4 separate regions of the Homo sapiens genome follow, and all the other regions are linked to region 2. Evidence: promoter capture Hi-C in human tissues and cell types (Jung and others, 2019). All regions are on one chromosome and are shown on one strand. The core of a region is centred on a gene start or on the middle of the fragment in contact, and the rest is flanking DNA. Distances in the headings are between cores, read along the strand shown. Region 1 holds the start of CDC34 (cell division cycle 34, ubiquitin conjugating enzyme). Region 2 holds the start of WDR18 (WD repeat domain 18). Region 3 holds the start of POLRMT (RNA polymerase mitochondrial). Region 4 holds the start of PRSS57 (serine protease 57).

Region 1 (3,652 bases), core at 533-3,032, 450 kb after region 2:
AGCTGCTAAAACCATTTGGCAACCTCGAGACCCAAACTCTGTTCCCTGTGTGGGGACGCAGGATTCCAGATGCAGAACCCACGGGCGTCCCACTCTCTGCTCAGGAATCGCCCCCAGCAGACCAGGCTGCTGCCCTCACAGCCGCTGAGCGGGTGCGGTTCAGACACTAATTAGCTCGGAGAGCAGACACATATCGTGCGGGAGGCATCGGTCCCTCGGCCCCACGCCCGCAGCTGGCCGGGGCAGAGCGGGCCGGGCCCTGCAGTGTCGTGTCGTGTCCAGGCTCTTGGCAGGAAGTGACGGTGGGAGGGGGAGATTCCTGGACAGGGTGCTCGTTCCCCACCGCTCACACAGGGCCCCTCGCTTTGTCCCTCTGGCCCCAAGAACGAGGTCCCTGAACGCTAAAAGAAGTCAAAGGTCACGTCTGGATCGTGAGATCAAGAAAACTGCCCTGGTTTTGGCCTGAGTCCTTTTCACATGAGACAGAAACAGCCTCCCCGCTCCCAACAACAACAAAAACATCCAGAAACTGCTTGGAATTAAACCGCCAGAGGGCAGAAGAAACGGCCCAGAACTCGGGGTTTGGGTCCCAAGAAGCCACCTGTTCAGTGGACTCTGAGAAAGGCCAAGACCAGCTGGGATGAGCGAGCCCGGAGCTTCTGAGGTCGGGGTCCGGGACGCGGGCCCGAGCCGGGAGGCCTGGAGAGAGCTGCAGGGAGCAGGTGGGAGGCACGCCCCTACTTCGGCCTTCCCGAGGGCGCAGGTTACATAAAGCAGGGGATGGAGCCCAGGGCGCCTGGCCGGCTGCTACTGGCAAGGGTGGCCGCTTTCCAGGCGGGTCCTGGCTGCCAAGGCTCATCCGGGCCTTTGTTGGAGACTGAGCGAGTGGCCGCGCCAGCCACCCCCAGGCTGGCCTCGCTCCCCCGCTCACGGGCCCAGCTCCCCAACAATAGCAGCTACGGGGTCTGGGGGGGCCTCTTTGTCTCCTCCGGGGAGGGCGGGGAGGGCAGCTGAAAGGCCGGCGCGGCCTGGGCTCCGCTCCCTCTTTCTCGCAGGGGCGGAGGGGGAGGCAGCCGGGGTCCAGCCCCCGCCAAGGAGGAGGTGGGCAAGAGCCCCACGCCCAGATGCTACAGGGAGGGCCCCCGGCCACCCCTCCGGGGGCCAAGAGCCTAACAGGGGACCGGACGATGCCTTGAAGGGAACTGGGGATTTTCGAGGACTGCAGCAGAGGCTGAAGGTCCCCGAGACGGTCCGAGGAGGGGGCCGGGCAGAGCTGGGTGGGGGAACGTGGCCATAGAAGGGAAACGAGCCCAAGCCAGGAGGCTTCGGGGCCCGCCCAGCAACAGCGCTAGGACCGCGGGGCAGGGAGCTGGTTCCCGGCGCCCGAGGTCGCTCGTGGGCTCCGGGACCCGGGCGGGGGTCGCCGCGCTCACCTTGAAGTAGCCGCCCTCGTAGTAGGTGTTGGGGGGCCCGAAGATGGCCACCTCCCAGTTGTATAGATCGCCCTCGTCCACCAGTGTCACGCGGAATCCCTCGACCGGCTCTTCCTGCAGCCCCTTGAGCTCCAGCAGCAGCGCCTTCTGCGAGCTGGGCACTAGCGGCCGAGCCATGGCGGCGGCGGAGGGGCCCGGGGTCGGAGCAGCGCGGGGCCGCGCGACCACCGCGAGTTCGCGAGACGGGCCGGGCCGCGCACCGTCCGGGGGGGAGCCACCGGGGCCGCCGCCTGCCTCCTCCTCTGCGCCGCCGCCGCCGCCCGGGGACCCCGAGCGCTCCAGCAGCTCTGGCGCCGCCGCCCCACCGGCGCTTGCCTTGGCCGGGCCCGCGCGCCCCGCCCCCCGCTGCGCCTGCGCGCACCGCCTGGCCCCGACTGCGCCTGCGCTCCGCGGCCAGGTCCGACTTGCGCCTGCGCGCCCGGCCGCAGGGGACGCCGGGAGGTGGAGTCCCGGCCCCGGTCCCGCCTACGGCGCCGAGCGCCTCCGCCGGGAGGGAGGGTTCGAGCGCGCAGCCCCGGGCTCTTCCGATCCCCGAGGCCGCCGCCGTCGCCCCCTGCTCGACCAGCACCGCGGACGCTGTGCGCAAGGAGGCGGGCAGGGCTGCTCTGCGCCGTCACCGGCCCGGTCCCCCGGCTTTGGGGTTGTTTTGTGACGTGCCGGCGCGGGGCGGGGCCGCGGGCGGTGAACGGGGCGCGGCGCGGGGTCCTGACCGGGACCGGAGGGGCAGGGCCGGTCCATCCGGCGCGACCCCGCGTCCCCGTCTCCGTTTCCCCGTCTGTGCAGGGGACGGGCGCGAAGTCTGTCCTAGGGTCGCGCTGGCCACGCGGAAGGGAGGAAGGGGCGGGAGCGAGGCGGGATCCGCAGACCTGGCTTCCAGGCGCGGCGCTGCCTCGGTTCCCCCGACAGCGGGAGCTCTGAGAAGTGGGCGAGGTCGGGGAGGGCTCTGAGGGGTGGGAGGGGCGAGGGCTTCCCTGGTCCCCGTTGAAGTCACCATGTGGTGTGAGGCGAGTGCAGGCGCTGGAGCCATCAGAGGTTGGCAAGGTGCTCCTGCCCCCCAGAGAAACTGGGAAAGAGGCCTACGCCGGCCAGCATCGGCTCAGCACCTGACCCGGGAGAGGCGCCAGCCCCACGGAGCCCCCACCCCAAGCTGAGCCCGAGCCTGGCTGTGCCCTCCTCCCAGCCTGACCTTTGTCCTACCCGAGTCTTTTTTTTTTTTTTTTTTTTAAATGAGACAGAGTCTCGTTCTGTGGCCCAGGCTGGAGTGCAGTGGCACAATCTCACTGCAACCTCCGCCTCCCGGGTTCAAGCTAGTGTCCGCCTCAGCCTCCCGAGTAGCTGAGATTACAGGTGCCCGCCACCACGTCCGGCTAATTTTGTATTTTAAGTAGAGATGGGGTTTCACCATGTTGGCCAGGCTGGTCTCGAACCCCTGACCTCAAGTGTGTTGTTAGGTTTTGAAAGGAAGGGGAGGATGCAGTTTGGACTAATAAAGGGATCCGTCTGCGTCGGCCTCCCAAATGCTGGGATTATAGGCATGAGCCACCGCGCCCAGCCCACCTGAGTCTTGACCCCAGCTGATTCCGGGCATCACTGTGACCCCACCTGACTTCTGACCTGGCTCAGTGGCTGCCCAGACACCCACATGCTCCTTGCTGTGAAGCTTGGTCGGGAGAACTGGCCGTGGTGAGGACGGGGCAGCCCAGCCTCCCCTGAGTCGTGCCCGTGACGGGTGGCCCTGCCCTCGGACTGTGCCAGTGGCATTGTTGCTATGCCCTGGGTACACACAGCTGCATCAACATACAGGCCGGGCACGGTGGCTCACGCCTGTGATCCCAACACTTTGGGGGGCCGAGGCGGGCGGATCACAATGTCAGGAGATCGAGACCATTGTGGCTAATATGGTGAAACCCCGTCTCTACTAAAAATACAAAAAATTATCTGGGCGTGGTGGCGGGCGCCCGTAGTCCCAGCTACTCGGGAGGCTGAGGCAGGAGAATGGCGTGAGCCCGGGAGGCGGAGCTTGCAGTGAGTCTAGATAGCGCCACTGCGCTCCAGCCTGGGCGACAGAGACTCCGTCTCAAAAAAAAAAAAAACCAAAAACAAAAACCAGTCTGGGACCAGGGCCACTCTGTCCCGCAGGTGCCCCAACACCTGGCCCC
Region 2 (3,431 bases), core at 552-3,051:
TCGAGGGGACCTGGAGAAAGGAGGCAGCAGGGTGAAGCTTAGGCTATAACCCCTGAGCAGTCACCCATCCCAGGGCCCCAGGCCGCATGGTTGTTCCCTGGTGCCCTGCAGGCAAAGCTCAGATGGGCTGAGATGTCCTGTGGGAAACGCTCACGCTTTGCTCCTCTTACCTCCCACAGGTGGATGCTTTCTGCAACTCCTGCCAGGACGTAGAGACCATTGGGTGATGCAGTCAGACAGGTGACAGGCCCGGGGCACATGATCTTCTGCTGGAGCTGGTCCTAAGGATGCACAGTCAGCCTCGTGAGCCCCATGCAGGACACGGGAGCTACTACAGCAGTGGAGGGCGAGGGGAGGGGACGCCTGGGCAATGGCTAAGTCAGAGAACCAGGAAGAGGAGTCGGGAGCAGGGTGGTTTGAGCAAATGCATGGTCCAGCAAGGAAGTGTTCGCCCCTGCAAGAGGCTTCGAGGCTGGAGGTGGTAGATGTGAGGTTGGTGCTTCCTCTGAGGGTCAGAGGGGCCCTGGGTGGGAGGAGTACAGGAACAGAACAAAGAGGATCCAGAAGGACACTGGGGCCCAAGAGCCCAGTAGGCTTGTGCCCCAATCCTTCTATCCATAATGTCCAACCTAAGACCCCAAGCCTCAGCTTCCTCCTCTCTAAAATGGGAAAACTCAGCCGGGCGTGGTGGCTCACGGCTGTAATCCCAGCACTTTGGGAGGCTGAGGTGGGCAGATCACTTGAGGTCAGGAGTTCGAGACCAGCCTGGCCAACATGGTGAAACCCTGCCTCTACAAAAAATACAAATGTGGGCCGGGTGTGGTGGTTGGTGCGGGCCTGTAGTTGCAGCTACTCAGGAGGCTGAGGCCCGAGAATCGCTTGAACCCTAGAGGCAGAGGCTGCAGTGAGCCGAGATCGCACCACTGCACTCCAGCCTCAGCGACAGAGTGAGACCCTGTCTCAAAACTAAAATAAAATGGGAGAAATTTATGAGTTGTGTGTAGACTCCATCAGGCAATGCTGGAGCACAGAGCCAGTCCCAAGAGATCTCAGCGGGCACACGGGGGAAGCGAGTAGCTTCAGGGACTGGCTGCATTTGGGCTTGGGAGTAGAGGGGAAACTGTGGGCGACGGTGAGTATCTGTTGCTTTATTGGAGGAATAAACATGAGTTTCCTGCGCCACCCCTTCATGGGAGACTCCCCCAGACCTTGGTCCTTCTCCCTTTTCCTCCAGAACCACAACATCCACAGAGCTCATAGGCCCCTTTTAATCAAATTTCGCGCTCCAAGAACTCGTGCATGCGCAATTGCCCCAAGGGACCCCCCGGAGCGTCTCCCATTTTCCCCCACTGCCCCCATAGCAGCTCAGGCCTGAGCCCCGCGCGTGCGCAGAGCGGCCTAACAGGTCGCACGTATCTCCCCAAAGCCCCCAGACCCGCGCATGCGCAGAGCGCCCGAACGGAGACCACCTCCCCTCCCCACGCCAATTCCGACTAAGGGTGCACGCGGCCCCCACCAACCCATCCCCCGACTTCAGCCTCGGGCGCCCCATGACCCCAGCAGCGAGACCGCACCGCCGCACCTTCCGCTGGAGCTCCCAGGCGCTGATGTAATTCTTGCCCAGCTGCGCCGCCAGCAGATACTCGCCATTGAGCAGCGCCAGGCCGCGGGGTCCCGCCTGGCCGCCGCGGTAGGTGAGCAGGTTGGCGCCCGAGTGAAGTTCCCACACGATGCAGCTCCACATCGGGGCCGCCGAGTCCGTACACACGGCCACCTCCATGGGCGCCGCCATCTTGCCTTCCCCACCGCCCCGGACGTGCGTCATCATGAGCGAGACGCGGACGACTGCCCCACGCGGGCCAGAGCGGCGGCCCCGCGGCCCCAGCGGGTGGCCGACCCGCGCATGCGCCCGTGCCTCGGAGAGAGGGGCTTTCTTGTGAAGTGGGATTTCCCGCTTACCTGAGACTCGAGGGTCGCGCGGCCTGCTTAGAGATCTGGGGAGGCGACTTCTTCCAAGGCCCAGGGTCTCCGGCGATCAGTTAGTAGCTCTAGAGCCGGGGTACCTGACTTGGCCTTTTCCTCCTGGGCATTTTTGGCCAAGTGACTCAAGCTCTTGGATTCATTTATTTTTAAATGTTCAAATAATAAAGTTCCGACGTCACAGGCCTAAATGACACATTGCGCCTAAAAGAGAGAGCGCACACCCAGCAACATGGCTAGTTGGCGATGAATACATTGGAATTCACTGCTTCCTTATTTATTTAGTTTTGTAGAGCCAGGGTCTCACTGTCCTGCCCAGGCTGGCCTCGAACTCCTGAGCTCAAGTGATCCTCCCAGCTCGGCCTGCCAAAGTGCTGGGATTACAGGCGTGAGCCACCGCGCCCGGCCCAGTGTTTCCTTATTGGTCGACATCTGCCTCCCCCTTGACCCCTCTTTAGGGGCCTCAACATCTAAATTATTAGTCGGATAGCTTGGTGTAGGTCAAACAAGTCGCCAGTTCTGTCCGAGCCAAGCAGGGTCTAACTTCATGTCACGGCTGCCCGTCACGGACCATGTCTGAAAACGGCATTCAAAAAAAAAAAAAGGCCGGGCGCTTTGGCTCAGGCCTGTAATCCCAGCACTTTGGGAGGCCGAGGTGGGTGGATTACCTGAGATCAGGAGTTCGAGACTACCCTGGCCAACATGGCGAAACCCCGTCTTTACAAAAAGTACAAAAAGCCGGGCGTGGTGGGAGGCTGAGGCAGGAGAATCGCTTGAACCCGGGAGGCGGAGGTCTCAGTGAGCCGAGATCCCAGGCACTCCAGCCTGGGCGAATGAGACTCTGTCTCAAAGAAAAACATATATCTATTATTTATTTATACTAAATATATATCTAGTAGAGATGGGGGGTCTCACTGTGTTGCTCAGGCTGGTCTCCAACACCTGGGCTTAGGCCTTGGCCTCTTAAACCGCTGGGATTACAGGCTTCAGCCACAACGTCCGGCCTAAAAACAGTATGATTTAAAATGTGCAATTAGTTGCCAACCCCTTAAAAAGGGATAAAAAGGGAGCATTCATTTAAAAGTCGGGATTTCCGCCCGGGGGTTGCAGCTGACCTGGGTCGTGTGCCCTCGAGCAGCAAGAGGCAGGGGCTGGAGGCTGCATGCGGGGTGCGGTCCCCGGAGGCGGTGCGACTCCTGGTCCGCGGCTCCCGGCGGAGGGCACGGCCGGGGCAGGAGGCTGGTGCCAGAGCGTGCGGCGCCGCAGCCCCGCTGGCCGCCAGGTGGCAGGCGCGAGCCACCGACCCCGAGCCCAGGCCAGAGGGAGGGCGGCCCCGGGGACCCGCCTGGTCGGCAGGAGGGGCCGTTTGAGCGGGGAGCCAGCGACCCCCAGAGAACCGTGTGCGGGGCAGGCCCGTGCGAAGGCCCTGGGGCAGGACCACGGAGCGGGGC
Region 3 (3,675 bases), core at 1,044-3,543, 350 kb after region 2:
GGCTAATTTTCGTATTTTTAGTAGAGACGGGGTTTCACCATGTTGGCCAGGCTGGTCTCAAACTCCTGACCTCACGTGATCCGCCCGCCTCGGCCTCCCAAAGTGCTGGGATCTCATCAAATAAAAGAAAAGACTAACGCATAAGGAATGGTGAAATAGTTCAGAAGTCGGTTTCCACCCAAGTTTCTGGCTCTGCCAGCCTGCAGGGGTGCAGGGGGTGTCTGTAGGTCTTGGCACACCAGGCCTGGCTGATTCAGGGCCAGGCAGGTGACCCCAGTAGTGGGTGAGGTCTGAGGTCACAGCCCGCTGGGGCACCCTGAGGTGGACTGAGGCAGGTGAGGGAGGGTGCTGCCGTCTGTCGAAAACATTCCCAGCCGGTGGCATCAGTGCGCTCACGCAGGCGTCGGCAGCAGCGTCTGGAATGTGCTGTAAGGAGGCTGCCAGGCCCTTCCAGAGTGAGGTCGAGTCCTCGTTCTGGGCTGATGGGGAAACTGAAGTGCCAGGGTTTGGGGATGGAGGATAGCTTGAGCTGAGGCCCCCGAGCCCCCGTGTGGTCAGGCCCCCTAACTGAGCCCCAGCTACATCTTTGCTCCCTCTCCCCAGCCCCACTCTGCTCAAATTGCTCCTCTGTCCACGCTTGTTCCTGCCTCAGGGCCTTTGCACTTGTTTTGTTTTGAGACAGGGTCCTGTTCTGTCAACCCAGGCTGGAGTACAGTGGCGCCATCTCAGCTCACTGCAGTCTAAACCTCCTGGGCTCAAGCAGTCCTCCTGCCTCAGCCTCCCGAGTATCTGGGACCACAGGTGTGCACCACCATGCCTGGCTAATTTCTTTTTTTCCTTTGGTGGAGACTGGGTCTCAGTATCTCGGTTGCCCAAGGCTTGTCTGGAACTCCTGGGCTCAAGCGATCCTCCCGCCGCAGCCTCCCAAAGTGCTGGGATTACAGGCCTGAGGCACTGAACTGACCTCCCTTTGCACTTTTTTTTTTTTGAGACAGGTTCTCGCTCTGTCACCCAGGCTGGAGTGCAGTGGCGAGATCTTGGCTCACTGCAACCTCCGCCTCCCGGGTTCAAGCGATTCTCCTGCCTCAGCCTCCCGAGTAGCTGGGATTACAGGTGCCCGCCACCACCCCCGGATAATTTTTGTATTTTTACTAGAGACGGGGTTTTGCCATGTTGCCAGGCATGCTTGCGTATTTGCCAAGCTGGTCTCGAACTCTGACCTTAGGTGATCCGCCCGCCTCAGCCTCCCAAAGTGCTGGGATGACAGGCCTGAGCCACCAAACCAGCTCCCCTTTGCAACTGGGATATTAGCCTGGAACACAGTTACCCCCAGATATTCCTATTCTCACCCTTCCCAAGCCTACTGCCCCACAGCAGGCGCTCCCGCCTCTGGCCTGCTGCCCCGGCTGAACGACACAGGTGGGCACACCTTCCAGGTTCCATTCTAAAGCTCCCGCCCTGCTCCTCCTAGGCAGGATCACGCGGAGACCAGGGCAGGCTCTAGGCTCCGAGGTTTATTTCATTCCCTTGACCTCACCCCACTTAGCAGGTGAATCCAAGCCTGCCGCTCCATTCGGCTCCTGCCCCTGAGGGCTTGGGGATTGGAGGGTAAACTGAAGCTGGAGGCTGGGAGTCTCGCGGACTGGGGCTTTCTCTCCTTGCAGCCTCCCTGAGGTCGCACGTGCTGTGTCTTCCAGCAACTTGGTGGCCCTCTCTGAGCCTCAGCTTCCTCCATGATAGACGGCATCCTAATGACTCTTACCCAAAAGTTGTCGTTGGAGCAATGAAGGTTGCGGACAGGAATCTCTAAATTGCAGATGCTGTCCTCGTTATTAGATGAGTATGCCTTGAAAAAAAAAAAAAAAAAGCCGGGCACGGTGGCGGCGTCTGCAATCCCAGCGCTTTGGGAAGCCGAGGGGCGAGGATCTCTTTACCCCAGCAGTTCGAAGCTGCACTGAGCTATGATCACGCCACTGCACTCCAGCCTGGGCCACAACGCGTCCAAAACAAAACCAAAAAAGAAAGAAAAACAGAAAAAAAGTCCGGATTTGAGGTCCTCGGGAAAACAGCCTGAGAGTGCCTCCCAGTTGCCACGGCAACAGCTCTGTCCCGCCCCCTCCCTTTAAAAACAGCAGGAGGAACCAATCAGAGCGTCCACCGGCGCATGCCTTCGCGCCTCCGCTGCATCCTGGGAGTCTACTTCCGGCTGGGGTTTCCCTTCGCAGCCTCCGTCGACCATGAAACCACAACTCCCGGCAGGCGGCGCGGGCGCATGCGCAGGCGCGGGCCGGTGGGGTGGCCTGGAGCGGCGTGCGTAATGTCGGCACTTTGCTGGGGCCGCGGAGCGGCGGGGCTCAAACGAGCCCTACGGCCTTGCGGCCGCCCGGGACTCCCCGGCAAAGAAGGTAACACAAAGGGAGACGGCCAGGCAGCCCGGGGGCCACGGCGTGGGCTCCTCCCCGCGCGGCCGGGGCCTTTGGCGCTTTGACCTTTGCCTCTTTGCACCTGGGCGTGCGCAGCCCACCGACCCGGCCCCGCTTTCCACTCGCCCTTGCCCGCTTTTCGACTGAGGCTCCTCCGTGCAGTCTGACCTTTGACTCGTGGTTTCTTATGCAGCCTCCTGACCCCAGGTGTGGTGTTTAGGGCTCTTAACCTTTGACCTGCTGCACCTCGAGTGCGAGGAACCCTCTCTCGGCGGTTCCGCGCCCGTGTTCGCCGCGGCGGGGCCCTTCCACCTTCGCTGTCTTAGTTTCTTTCCAACTTAAGCCCGTGCTCCGAGAGTTTCCGCTGCGTTTAGGGCTCCTTTGCCCTTCGACCCTTCGGCTTCTGCCTTTATGGAGGCCCCCGCCCACACGCCCGGCCCCGCTCAGCCGCTCTCGTCTTTCCCGCAGGGACCGCCGGTGGCGTCTGCGGCCCCAGGAGGAGCTCGTCCGCCAGCCCCCAGGAGCAAGACCAAGACCGCAGGAAGGACTGGGGCCACGTGGAGCTGCTGGAGGGTGAGCGCGACCCCCACGGCGGCCCGGGAGAGGAGAGTCCGCTCCCTGCTGCCGGGAGAAAAGGCAAAGGCTCAGATTCTGAGACAGGCTGAGGGCGGTCTCCACCTCTCGGGTCCCAGGACACGCCCAGACGGCGTTGCTGAAACATCTCTTGCACCGCTCATGGGCCCTGTCCTTGCTGAGCAGGCTCCTTCCTGGAGCTCTCGTAATTCCCCCTCCCCAGAACCCCACCAGGTGCTCCCACTTTCCAGGGACATAGGTGAGGCCCAAGATTATGTCTGGAGAGACCCCCCCCCCGGCCCCGCCGCCAAGGCCACATGTGCAGAGCCAGGATGTGAACCCTGAACTGACTCAGCTGTCCTGGCTTGGCTCTGGGGGGTAGGCGCCTAATGGAGACTGGATGACTGCGAAACTTGGGAGGGACAGCCCAGGCTCCAGCGGTGGCAGGCCCTCGTCCTGGCCTGGCTGGTGGTGTGGGAGGGAGGTGGGAGCTTCCCTGTGCTTGCTTCCCGCCGGTGCTTCTGTCCCACATCCTGTCTGCGTCCATTAGGCAGCCGGGAAGGGAGAGGCGGGAGAACCTTTATAAAGGGAAAAAACCTGGCCAGGTGCGGTGGCTCACGCCTGTAATCCCAGCACTTTTGGGTGGCCGAGGTGGGCGGATCAAGAGGTCGGGGGTTCG
Region 4 (3,475 bases), core at 969-3,468, 290 kb after region 2:
GGAGCTTGCAGTGAGCCGAGATCGCACCACTGCAGTCTGGCCTAGGCGAAAGAGCGAGACTCCATCTCAAGAAAATATAATAATAATAATAATAAACGAAATGGCACCAATTTATTCTCTGGCAGTGCTGGAGGTCAGAAGCCCCTGCAGGCCCTTCTGGGCTAACGTCAGGGCATCGGTAGGGCTGGCTTTTCCCGGAGGCTCCAGGAGAAAATTCGTTTCCTGCCGTTTTTTAGCTTCCAGAGGCCGCCCGCATCTCGCAGAGCCCGAGTTCGTTGTGGGGCCTTTTCATACCTTCCTTTCCACGCATTTCCTGTTGCTTCATTTCACTTCATTCTTTATTGAGAACACTTTACATTTGGTAAAACACAGGTCTGGAGCGTTCAATGATGACTTTTTTTTTTTTTTTTTTTTTGAGATGGTGTCTCGCTCTGTCACCCAGGCTGGAGTGCAATGGTGCAATCTTGGCTCACTGCCACCTCCACCTCCCGGTTCAAGCGATTCTCCTGCCTCAGCCTCCCAAGTAGCTGGGATTACAGGCACCTGCCACCACGCCTGACTAATTTTGGTACTTTAAGTAGAGACGGGGTTTCACTATGTTGGCCAGGCTGGTCTTGAACTCCTGACCTCAGGTGATCCACCTGCCTCGGCCTCCCAAAGTGCTAGGATTATAGGCGTGAGCCACTGCACCCGGCCCCAGCCTGTTCATTATTAAGCGCTGACGAGCACCCCACTGCTAGCCACTGCCGTGAACGCCATCACCCGGCTGTGTGAGCTGCAATTTACGACCTGAACTTTGCCACTAAGAACGCTCCCACTGAAAGGTGAAGACCTGCCGGGCTGGGCGCGGTGGCTCAGGCCTGTCATCCCAGCACTTTGGGAGGCTGAGGCAGGTGGATCACCTGAGGTCGGGAGTTCGAGACCAGCCTGACCAACATGGAGAAACTCCGTCTCTACTAAACACACAAATTTAGCGGGGCGTGGTGGTGGGCACCTGTAATCCCAGTTACTCAGGAGGCTGAGGAAGGAGAATCCCTTGAACTCAGGAGACAGAGGTTGCGGTGAGCCAAGATCGCGCCACTGCACTCTAGCCTGGGCAACAAGAGCAAGATTCCTTCTCAAAAAAAAAAAAAAAAAAAAAAAGGCCGGGCACCGTGGCTCATGCCTGTAATCCCAGCACTTTGGGAGGCCGAGGCGGGCGGATCATGAGGTCAGGAGATCGAGACCATCCTGGCTAATATGGTGAAACCCCGTCTCTACTAAAAATACAGAAACAAAATTAGCCGGCTGTGGTGGCGGGCGCCTGTAGTTCCAGTTACTCGGGAGGCTGAGGAACGAGAATCACTCGAACCCGGGAGGTAGAGGTTGCGGTGAGCCGAGATGGTGCCATTCCACTCTAGCCTGGGCAACAAGAGCAAGACTCCATCTCAAAAAAAAAAAGAAAAGAAAAAAAAGGTGAAGACCCCCATGTACAGCCATGTCCCACTGGACTCCGGATCCCACAGAACGTCAGTGCTACAGGCTGGGGTGCGGTCACTGCCTCATCCTCACCTCCTAGCATGAGGTCTGGTATACACTAGGCACTCAATAACTGCTGAATAAAGGCAGAAATCTGCCAGGTGCAGTGGCTGTCTTCTGTGATCTCAGCACTTTGGAAGGCCGAGGAGGGAGGATCGCTGGAGCCCAGGAGTTCGAGACCAGCCTGGGCAACATAGCAAAACCCCACCTATAAAAATAAAATAAAATAAAGGCAGAAATCATCAGAGCTTCCCAGGAGACCGGCCTTCCTCGCTGTCCCCACAGCCCTGAGGTCGGCCCTGGGTTTGGAGATGGGAAGACTGGGGTTTGCGGGGTGGGGGCCGGAGGCGAGCTGCGGGTCTCGAGTGCCGCTGTGACCTCGGTTCCTCGGAAAGCTCCCCACACATGCTGGGCCACGTGGAGGCTGGGTAAACTGAGGCACAGAAGGGTCAATTGCCTTCCCGAGGTCACTTGCAGCCCCAGAGCTGTCTCCTCCTCTCCCTGTTTCCGGACTAGGGGACAATGATTATTATCAACATGATTATTACCAGCCACCACCTGAGACCATCGATTTCTCAGAAACGCCCGCCTGGGCTCCAGGCGTTGCTGGTGGGGCCTCCCGACCACAGGCCACAGCCAGGCTCCCCCTTTCCGGCCGTTGGCTGAGGGTGGGAGCCACGGCCCGAAGACCTCTGCGGGGAGACGCCAGCCTGCGTCTGCCATGGGGCTCGGGTTGAGGGGCTGGGGACGTCCTCTGCTGACTGTGGCCACCGCCCTGATGCTGCCCGTGAAGCCCCCCGGTGAGGAGCCCCCCGGGATCCCCACCCAGGCCCCCGCCAAGTCCCCGTACGGGGGCCACACCCGGGAACCCCCAGTCCCGGGAGAACCCTGGGGAGAGCTCCACCTGCTCCATCTGCCGAGCCCCCGTGGCTGCCTCTGCTGGAAATGGATGGAAATCCGGCCGGGGTCTCTGCCCAGCCCAGCCCTGGATCTCCCGGGCTCGGGAGCCCCTCCCAGCGCATCTGGGGGGCTTGTCTGGGCTCTGTCTCCAGCTCTCTGGGTCTCTCCGTCTCTAATCTCACCCCCTGTCTCTGTCTTGGCCGCTACTTCTCCCCCTGCCCTGACCCCAGCCCCGTCATCCGTTCCTCCCGCCTCGTCCCTGACTCAGGCCGTCCCTCCAGCAGGCTCCTGGGGGGCCCAGATCATCGGGGGCCACGAGGTGACCCCCCACTCCAGGCCCTACATGGCATCCGTGCGCTTCGGGGGCCAACATCACTGCGGAGGCTTCCTGCTGCGAGCCCGCTGGGTGGTCTCGGCCGCCCACTGCTTCAGCCACAGGTGAGCTCACCTGTCGGGCCCCTTCTTTCTGGACACCGTATCCCGACATGAGGGGGACTCCAGGCTGGTGGGGGAGCTGGGGGCGCCGTGGCTCCTGCAGGAGGGGGAGTCTCAGCAGGGGCTGGATTTAAAGGGCAACAAAGGGAAAACAGGAGGATAAGGCAGGGAGGCAAAAGAAGCACAGAAGAAGCAACAGGCGCAACAAGTACATATTCTGTTACTGTAACTGTCACTATGTTCTTTTTTTTTTTTGAGGCAGTCTCGGTTCCCCAGGCTGGAGTGCAACGGTGCAATCTCGGCTCACTGCAACCTCCACCTCCCGGGCTCAAGCGATTCTCCTGCCTCAGCTTCCCGAGTAGCTGGGATCACAGGCGCCCACCACCACACCTGGCTAATTTTTGCATTTTTAGTAGAGACTGGATTTCACCATGTTGGCCAGGCTGGTCTCGAACTCCTGACTTCAAATGATCCACCCGCCTCTGCCTCCCAAAGTGCTGGGATTGCAGGTGTGAGCCGCCATGCCCTGCCTCGTTTTAAACATATTGTTATAATAACTATTAAAATGTATATTGGGGCCAGGGTGGGTGGGTCCCCTCCTGCAGGAGCCCCCACCAGGCAC

The links. The method cuts DNA at HindIII sites, captures the fragments that hold promoters and counts their contacts. A contact is called where the count stands out against the background at its distance.
Region 1: a contact is called between the fragment with the promoter of CDC34 here and the fragment with the promoter of WDR18 in region 2, in 1 of the 25 tissues and cell types used here (spleen).
Region 3: a contact is called between the fragment with the promoter of POLRMT here and the fragment with the promoter of WDR18 in region 2, in 1 of the 25 tissues and cell types used here (dorsolateral prefrontal cortex).
Region 4: the fragment with the promoter of PRSS57 here is called in contact with the fragment with the promoter of WDR18 in region 2 in 1 of the 25 tissues and cell types used here (lymphoblastoid cells).

The regions. Positions count from the first base shown.
Region 1 is chr19:529,890-533,541 of GRCh38, reverse strand. It overlaps CDC34 (cell division cycle 34, ubiquitin conjugating enzyme), which reads right to left and starts at 1,782. Exons shown (of 5, transcript NM_004359.2): 1 at 1,434-1,782. The coding sequence starts at 1,610. RefSeq lists enhancers at 408-567, 638-687, 1,085-1,741 and silencers at 948-1,117, 1,538-2,277. The HindIII fragment of the contact is 13,520 bases long and covers 1-3,652 here.
Region 2 is chr19:982,715-986,145 of GRCh38, reverse strand. WDR18 (WD repeat domain 18) reads right to left here and starts at 1,801. Exons shown (of 10, transcript NM_024100.4): 1 at 1,583-1,801; 2 at 171-281. The coding sequence starts at 1,792. RefSeq lists enhancers at 1,482-1,661, 1,692-1,841, 1,266-2,207 and silencers at 1,892-1,981, 3,146-3,431. The HindIII fragment of the contact is 34,067 bases long and covers 1-3,431 here.
Region 3 is chr19:632,155-635,829 of GRCh38, reverse strand. It overlaps POLRMT (RNA polymerase mitochondrial), which reads left to right and starts at 2,293. Exons shown (of 21, transcript NM_005035.4): 1 at 2,293-2,405; 2 at 2,892-2,996. The coding sequence starts at 2,318. It overlaps LOC105372234 (a long non-coding RNA gene), which reads right to left and starts at 2,366. Exons shown (of 2, transcript XR_936226.2): 1 at 1,935-2,366; 2 at 1-1,846. RefSeq lists silencers at 2,080-2,339, 2,350-2,509. The HindIII fragment of the contact is 7,301 bases long and covers 2,221-3,675 here.
Region 4 is chr19:694,195-697,669 of GRCh38, reverse strand. It overlaps PRSS57 (serine protease 57), which reads left to right and starts at 2,218. Exons shown (of 5, transcript NM_001308209.2): 1 at 2,218-2,318; 2 at 2,703-2,856. The coding sequence starts at 2,240. The HindIII fragment of the contact is 19,970 bases long and covers 1-3,475 here.